Linked DNA regions of Homo sapiens: region 2 is linked to region 1. The links are contacts of gene promoters, found by promoter capture Hi-C in blood cells and fetal thymus (Javierre and others, 2016). All regions are on one chromosome and are shown on one strand. The core of a region is centred on a gene start or on the middle of the fragment in contact, and the rest is flanking DNA. Distances in the headings are between cores, read along the strand shown. Region 1 holds the start of FOXP1 (forkhead box P1). Region 2 overlaps FOXP1 (forkhead box P1).

What was found. Contacts are between HindIII fragments. The CHiCAGO score rates a contact against its expected background, and 5 or more counts as called.
Region 2: a contact is called between a fragment that was not itself captured here and the fragment with the promoter of FOXP1 in region 1, in 8 of 17 cell types (total B cells, non-activated CD4 T cells, neutrophils and 5 more). The highest score is 8.1, in total B cells.

The regions. Positions count from the first base shown.
Region 1 is chr3:71,582,079-71,586,582 of GRCh38, forward strand. It overlaps FOXP1 (forkhead box P1), which reads right to left and starts at 1,650. Exons shown (of 21, transcript NM_001349338.3): 1 at 1,493-1,650. It overlaps FOXP1-DT (FOXP1 divergent transcript), which reads left to right and starts at 2,865. Exons shown (of 1, transcript NR_182289.1): 1 at 2,865-4,504. RefSeq lists a silencer at 1,523-1,762 and an enhancer at 1,840-2,134. The HindIII fragment of the contact is 2,384 bases long and covers 524-2,907 here.
Region 2 is chr3:71,040,922-71,044,896 of GRCh38, forward strand. FOXP1 (forkhead box P1) reads right to left here. Exons shown (of 21, transcript NM_001349338.3): 11 at 407-611. Among named protein-coding and RNA genes, the nearest start is that of FOXP1-AS1, 250 kb to the right of the region's middle. The HindIII fragment of the contact is 8,522 bases long and covers 1-3,975 here.

The sequences.
Region 1 (4,504 bases), core at 400-2,899:
GGGGGGCTGCAGGCAGCGATTTCGAAGCAAACACATGGGAGGGGGGCATGCGACTTTGTTTCCGGGAGCGGAGCTCCCCAGAGCCCGTGTGTGTCACTGCCAGTCTCCCGGGACCAAGGCGGAGCTCACAACAGGTGGGGAGGGGGGCTCGTCGAGGGCCAAAAAGAAGAAGGAATCTAAGTTTCCGAGCGCGACGTTGTCTGAAAAGGAGGGAGGCGGGAGGCGGGGGCGAGGGAAGGCGGAGGCAGCAAATGACCGCGACCCCGCGGCAACTGGCAAACTCCTCGGCTCCCGGCGCCGCCGCCACCGCCGTGGTCCCCACTCGAAGCGCACGCCGCCTCGGCTCGCTGGCTCCAGGGAGTCGTCTCGGCGGGACAGGAATAGAGCGCAGGGAGCTCGGGAGGAAGGCTGCGCGCAAGCGAGGGACGGAGAGCCATCGGCCGCCAGGACAGGGCCGGAGGGACGAGGCGACACGCGCGCGACGCAGGACAAATCGGAGCTTGGGAAATCTCCCCGTCCCCCAAGCTTCAGAGGGGGGTAAAATCAGAAAATGTGTGTGATGGTGGGAGAGAGATCCGGGCGCGGCGACTCCTCGCAGCGCATCCGGCTCCCGCACCCACCCGTGGATCTGGCCACGGCTGTTGCGGACTCGTCTCGGGAAAGCGGAGGCCGAGCGCGCGTAGGGGTGCGTGTCTGGCTGGGGGTGCGCAGGTGCGTGTTTGAATTTTCCGGGCTCCGAGGGGGTGGCGGGAGAGCTTCCTCGCCGCTGACTCTCGGGGTAACGCGCGCGTGGCAGCGGGGAAGTTCCCCAGTGCGGGGCCCAGGGCCAGGCACCACAGTCAGTTTGCTGGGGCCCGCGGGGCAGCTCAAGGGCACCGAGGGGGCACACACCCGCGGGGAAAGAAGGGGAAAAGTTTGCTCCAAGTCTAAACTTTGGGCCTAGGAGGCGCCCGGCGCGCGCCCCCTCCCGCCGCGGCCAGGACCCGGGACCCCGCACCGGCCCCGCGCCCGGGCGGCCACCGGACGCCAACGCCGGACATCGAAAGTTGCGCCAGGCGGCCTGGGCTTATTGATTTCTCTCCCCTAGGCGATCGTGGAGAGCGCAGAGAGAGGCGTGAAGGGGCCTACGGGCAGGCGATCTCGCCTCCTCACAGTCGCCACCGCCCCCGCCCCCATTTGACTTATGCAAATAAACCCAAAGGGTGCGGGCGCCGCCGGAGCTCCCTCCACCCGCGCGCCGGCCCGCAGCCCCCACCCATCCCAGAGCTGGGCCTCGACCCGGGGGGGAGAGGAAGAGAGGGGAGGGCTGGGGGAGATGCACGTGGAGCCTGGAGGTGGAAAGTAGTTGTTTTTTTTTTTCCATTTTTTTTCTCTTTTTCTTTCTTTCTTTTTTTTTTTTTGTGCTGGTTGTTGTTGTTGTTTAAAGTGGCGGAAACAAGACAGGAGGCGGCTTGGGAAAAAGTGGAGCAGAAATGGAAAAATACAAACTCACCCGCTGCAAATGGTCTCTCGGTGCAAACTAAGGTGTTTTCGGGCCTTTCCCCGCGCGCGCCCACTCCCGCCCGCGCGCGCACCCCGCGCACACACTCACTCGCGCACACACGCGCGCACACACGCACTCCCGGGCGAGGGCCGGGCCGCCGCGAGTACAGCGTGCAACCGCCACACAATAAATAACAATAGATTCCTCCGCTCCGGACTAGCTTCCCGGAGCCCAGCCAGCGCCGGTGGCGGCGGCGGCGGCGGCAGAGGCGCGGGCAGCACCGGCCCGGGGGCGCACCCCGGCCCGACCCTCTACCTCCCGCAGGGGTCCCCTCTCCGCTTCACGCACCCCGCTGGGCACTCCAGCGGCCCCCCGAGCGGGAGCGGCTCCCTCTTTGCCGTTCGCCGGGGCGCTGGCGCCCACCCCCCTCCTCCCTCCCCCCTCCCCCCCGACATCCCGGAACAAATAAATAAATAAGGCGCGCGAGAGAGGCCAACACGTCGCGGAGGGAGATGTTGTTATTTTTTGCTGTTGTGCGTCCCTGACGTCACATCCACCTGCTGGGTAAACAACCGGGCTCCCAGAAAAAAAAAATCGCAATTGCCAAAGAATGGGGGGGGGGGTTGGGGGGAGGGATCCAGGGAGGGGGAAGTGAGGGGCGTCCAGGCAGGATTGGAAAGAGGAGAGGGAGGCAGAGCCCCGCGGACCAGAGAGAGGAAGGGAACGCCAGAGCAGTCCCTGGCAACAGAGGGATCTGGCAGGAAAGACCTGGAAAATAAGGGGCAGGGGGGCGGAGGGGGAGATTCCTCAGGAGATGGGAAATGGGGGGCCCATTCAGACAGCGGAAAAAACGAGAAGGGAGAGTGTTAACTAGGGACGAAGATGGGAATGCGATGGCTATTTGCTTGGATTCTGAGCTAAAAATATGAAAGGGAGGGGAGAGGACAGGCTAGAATGTGAGTTTCCTCCAGTTAAAAGTGAAAGTGTTTTGCCATCAGTGACAGTTGAAGGAGAGCGGGGTGGGAGGTGGTGTTTTCAACCCCCTTTCTCCCTCTCTCCCGTCCTCCCTCGGTCTCTCCTCTTTCTTTCTGCACTTTGTCCAATGAAAGAAGGCGAGTTCGGGAGGTGAAAGTTCAGCAGAAGGACAAACCCCTGTTTGCAAGGAAACAGAAACCCCGCCAGCCAGCGAGGGGTTTTCTCCCCTGTTTCTCGGAATCAGGAGAGTGTGAATGTGGGACGAGCTTCTGCCCCCTTGTCAGAGCCACTGCAGGAATGTGCAATCGAGTCCACTTTGGGGGAAGGTGGCTGCATCAGGAACTGTGTTCTTGCCACGACTCCTCTTAGGAAAACGCCTGGGGGCTAGCATGTCAGTCCGTTGTTTAACACAAATTACCTGCTCTCCCAGTGATCAGTCACGTGCAAAAAGCTTTGTCCAATTCTTTGAAAAGGTGAGATTTTTTTTTTTCTTTTTGCGGTTTTTGAAGTTTGGTTGAATTTAGAAATTCGAAGGAATAAACTAAGAGCCTGAATTAAATGTTTTGAAATATACATACATAAAACAAAAGACACTAGTATTTCTTTCACTTTTATCAATACGCATAGAGAAGGAAGCAGAGTATGTGTTTCCAAAACGTGACTTGGAAAGCTGTAAGACCTCTATGTCTTGTTGTTGTTGTTGTTGTTGTTGTTAACAGAAGTAAATTTTTTCAGACCCACCACCACAGAAGTGGCCAGACTCCCAAACCAGCATTTCCAGCTACTGGCTGGCTGGTGTACACCAGGCCAATTCTTTATGAGAATATATTAAAAGTCACCCCTGTGGATTCCTACAAAGTACTTCCCCTTGCGGGGAGGGGAGAGGCTTACTGTCCCTTTGGTCTTGAGACCAGCACAGTTGTAGATAATATCCTGAAAAGGTTATTATTAAATTCTTTCGCGTAATGCCCCTTTACAAATATTGTTAAACATTAATTTACAGAAGAACTTAAATCTTAATTTCAAGGGTGGCATAAGACTATCGCTTTGAAATTGTATCTTTCGCAAGTTAAAAAAAAAAAATAACAAAGCCATTCGCTGATGCTACAGAATAAAAGAAAGGGAGGCTGCTAAGGTAATTTCAGCCTGGTAGAATTCACATTGCATGCATGCTGCATAAAGTTCCATGCTATCCAGATAAGACTATTCACTGAATCTTTTAGACTAGAATCTAGACCAATAAAATGCATTTTAGTTTGTATGGAATGTCCTAGCTTCCTAGAGGCTAGGGTTCGACGTCTTGTTTGTCAAGACATAAAGGGATTAATGACATACCCACTGTGTGCTAGACCACAGAGTGGGCACAGAGGGATGAAAAAATAAAAATTCCTGCCCTTGAGGAGCTCACAGTCTAAGCTGTCAATAATAACATCTAACATTTATTAAATACTATGATCTAGGCACTGAACTAAAAGCTTTATGTCAACTCAGTTAATACTGCCAACAACTCTTTGACATCACTGGAAATTCCATATGCTGAATTCACACGGAATTAAGTGGAAATCTACAAAGTAGCCAGTCTACTGGTTCTGTAGTGGTCAACCTATTAAAAATGGTTTTTAATTTCTAAAGTACTTTATGCCAAATATAACATGTTTATGGTATATGCCTGACTGTAGAATTATAACTCAGGGGAATAACGACTTATTTAAATGTAACAGATCTATTCATAGTCTGTAAAGAACAATTCATCCTCTGATCTTGTTTTTCAGATTAAGCAGTGTGTTTATTAAAAATTATTATCATCGCAATACTAAAAAGATCTTTAGATTGCTGCTAATCTGATTCTGCATTTTAACTGCCTTAAATTCTACATTCACTTGCAAGTGGGGGCCACAGTCAGGTTGGCAACAAGTTTTGCAGACAAAAGGAAATCCTGGTTGTAAATCCCATGATATATTGTACTCAATTTTGTATGATACTGTCTAATGTGCTGTGCTGCCTTATTAAAGAACTCGATGTCCATTTGGTTTACATTAGAGGGAA
Region 2 (3,975 bases), core at 1,085-3,584, 540 kb before region 1:
GTTCTATGTTTTCTCAAACCATAATTCAAAATTGCCCACAGCAGACACTACTATTCCCTTAGAAGGCACTTCCAGCCAAGGAATTCAGCTTGTACGGAGTGAGCACTTGGCAGAAGGAGTAGGCCTGGAAGCCTGGAAATCCAACCCATCCAATGAGAAACTACACGACTTCTGCCCGGGTTCCTAAGCTGAGAGTAGATCTACATAAGTGCTAATTCCATGTTGAAAAGGTGAAAATAATTAGATGCTTCACACCCAAACCATACTGAATACATTCCTCAGTAATTATATGCACATTCAAGTCACATGGATCCAATTAGGGATCACTGAGATATGACGAGGCAGGGCCACCCACCCCTCTCATGTTAAAGGCAGTTTTGGACCCATCTCAGTGGCTGGTTCCTACCTTTCCCTTTTGGGAGTGTGGACTGAGAGCTGTCCATTGGTAGAGGCATGTGGGTTCATTATTAAGGAGGTCTTGGAAGGTGCAGAGGAGGAGACACATGTCGTGGTCAGATCCAAACTGCTGTGATTGTTGCCTGTGGTTTCTTCTGCAGTATGAGCACTTGTCACTTCTTTCCAGAGCTGCTGCAGTTCTGTTGGAATCATGCCTGAAACAAACAAATTGGATAATTAAATCAATTAACAGCTAATTCCGTCCTCTTCAAACAGCAATTAAATCAAAGAGTCAGTAAACAAAGCCTAGTGTTAGGGGGGTTTTTCGGTGTGTGCAGTTTTTTTTCCCCTCCCAACTACGGCAGATGCGGTAGTAAAAAGTGTGTCCTCTTACCGAGCAACTGAGTGGAAGTTGCCCTCATCGCACATAAAAGACTCAGGTGAAAGTGACTCAAAACACAGTTACTTTGCCACAACAGTATGCCTCTAACCATCCCAAGTGTTATTTCTCAATTTTGATGAAAAGTAGATAGATGTTACCTTAGTTTTAGACACAAAGAAGGGCTCAAAATAAATTTGTTCAACTATACTATTATGACAACATGAACTACAAAATGAATAATTTTTGTGCTTAAGTCTTAAATGATGACAAATAGCTTTGTTATTAAATATAGTTTTTATTAATCACTTTTAGACATAAATTATGAATTCATATCGTCTTCCTGAAATGCTTTTCAACTTTTAACAGTCAAATTGATTATACTATGATTATTTCATTAACACACCTATCTTCCTCATTAATTTTGGTTTCTAGTACCACATGCTTAATTGATGGATGTGTCTACTGAAAAACTGTGTAACTTTTTATACAAGTAACACTATTATTACTGTCATTTCTTAGATCAATGGTAATGAACCATTGCAGAATAAAATGCAAACGTAAAATAAACTTACAGTAATGAAGTTCTCTTGTTTTTTTAAAGGGGATCTAAATGGACATGGGTTTTAAGGAGTGAATCCAGTATTTTCCCCCAAGAAGAGATACAATCAGTATGCCAATCTCACTATTGTGGGCCTCTTCGTCTTTATCCTGCTGGCATGCCTCTGTAGCCCAGGTTTCCAAATCCCACCTCAATGCATATTCTAGCCCACACATGCACAGAATAAAGATATTCTAGATGACAACTAACAAAAACAACAACAACGACAACAAGCAACAAAACTTCCTTTGGAGGAACACCGAAAAGAAAACATAAACCCTGCACATCCTAAGGCAATACCACATTAGAAGTGGACGTCTGGATTGCAGTTCATTGTTTCAATCAAGTGTAACACAGCCATCCCAGAAAGCCTGCCATTTTCTGACTATATAGCAGCAGCTGAAACAGGCATGTTTCTTACCAAACCTAAGGTATCGAATTAAAAAAGAAGGCTGTGTGCATTATATTCATTTGAAACACATAATAAAAAATGCCAAGGTCTAAATTTAATTTATTTTTGTCATTTAGAATACAATGGATAGATAATCATCTCAACGTGATCAGCCAAACATCTTTACTTTGCTAAACTGTTAAAGATTTTAATTATGCTAGCATTGGAGAGCACTGGTCTAATGAGGCGATGGACTCCAGAGAATCCGAGTGGTTAAGAACTGTGAAATGAGTCTGATAGGATTTTTTTATATTCACCGTGGATCGTTTGCATATCAAAGAGGAGTAAATTATTGCACAGCAGACCAATAACCTTCCCCGCCTTTCTGAGAGGAGCGTTAACAAAAACAGTTGGTCCCTCCTAACGGTTCTCCACGAAAATGTTCAAATGCTCAAGCATTTGCAATTAATATATATTATAAAGGAGGCTTCAAATGATACATTAAGTGGTCAGATATTCTTAGGAGGCATCCTCGACAGACAAGTCGGTTTTCTTCTCCCTTCATAAAAATCAAATGCCAATTATATTTTGATGGATTTTGTCCCAAATGAGCATTTAGTTATTAGGCATAGTCAATTATTACTTGTCCCCTGAAATTAAGCCTCAGAGGCAAATTAAACAAAGGGGAAAGGTCACTCCACAACCCCATGTCCGGTTTTGCTGCATCTGAACTATTATTTTCCAACACCTTTCGAAGTGACAGGTGGGATGCGTTTGTAGCTAGCAGGCCCGCTACTGTTGTCTGCACACCAACAATTACCTGTGAACATGGGTGACCCTCAGACCACTGTTTACTCAATGGAAACAATAGTTAATAGGCTTGTCTGTTGATGATGGCATACTGATATAAAACCACACAAGTCAACATCTATTTTTATTTTCTAGAGAGTAAACACATGAAAAGAACAAGCCACCTATTTCTCAACTCAAACTAAATGATTTCTGGGTCAGCTGCATGGGAGGTGGGAAGACTAGGACAGGGTCCTAACAACTGTGTTAACTCCCGCTTTCTCTCGAAGAAAAGCAGAACTTTGATGCTGTTTTAAAAGTAAGCTGTTTATCCAGCAAATAAAGACAAAGACAAATGTATTTACCACTTGTTATACCTACAGGGTGCATTAATGTTACTCTACTCTCCCATCTATTCCAATGGGCTGGCAATCAGTTCCATTATCCATAGAGAAAAATGGTAAATAAAAATAGTAACTCATTAAGTGACAACAGCGATACTTCTGGGTCAAACTGCAATGTGATAATTACTTTTAAGAACATTCTCATCACACTTAACACAGAAGCAGTCAAATCGCTTTCCTCCATCAATGCCATATATCGTTAGTGATGTTAAACTGTTAGTTCAATGAGCGCTACCTACCAAAGGGTGTTGTTATTTGACAGCTAAGATCTCATGTTAGACAGATAAAAGGTAACCCAGTCACTCATCAGACTAAATGGATAACAAATTTCCAGAAAGTATGTATTTCTTCCAAAATGGTAGACTAAGAATAATAGTACGAAGTTAAACAAATCCATTAGCAGGTACATAGCCAAGCATGTAATTTTCTGCTACCTAGAGTTTACATTTTAAAAATTAAAAGGTCAGAATAAGACTGAAAGAATATTTCTATATGAAATTACTGGTGCTAGGGAGGATGAGATGATTAAAGAGACCAGGGTGAAAAGCAGATAGGCTAATTATGTAAAACAGAAAGAAGACCCTACAATAACCTTAAAAACAACACAAAATATCCCTCCATTTCCTATTATAAAACCTTCAGGGAAAAAAAGGCCTTCAAAATATTAATTCTCTATCTATTCCTATACTTGACATTTACATGTTTAAGGTTAACTCGGCAAGGCCATGAACAGGTATGTAAAATAATCTTGATGATTTCATTATGAAGTGGGCATTACCAGTATTTTTAACAGATAACCCCCAAGTCTTGCAACATTTCTTTTTCCAGGACAACTGGCCCCTTCATTATAAAAGAAAATGCAGGCACAGGTTTAAAAAATGTATGTTGTGGGGACAGATGACAGATTACTGTTCATGGAACTCAATTTTACAACCCCAGGTATCACTGGCTCAAAGACAAACAGAGTTGATCAACCTTTTTTTGTCCTTGTACATCCATACCCAGGTGACCATGT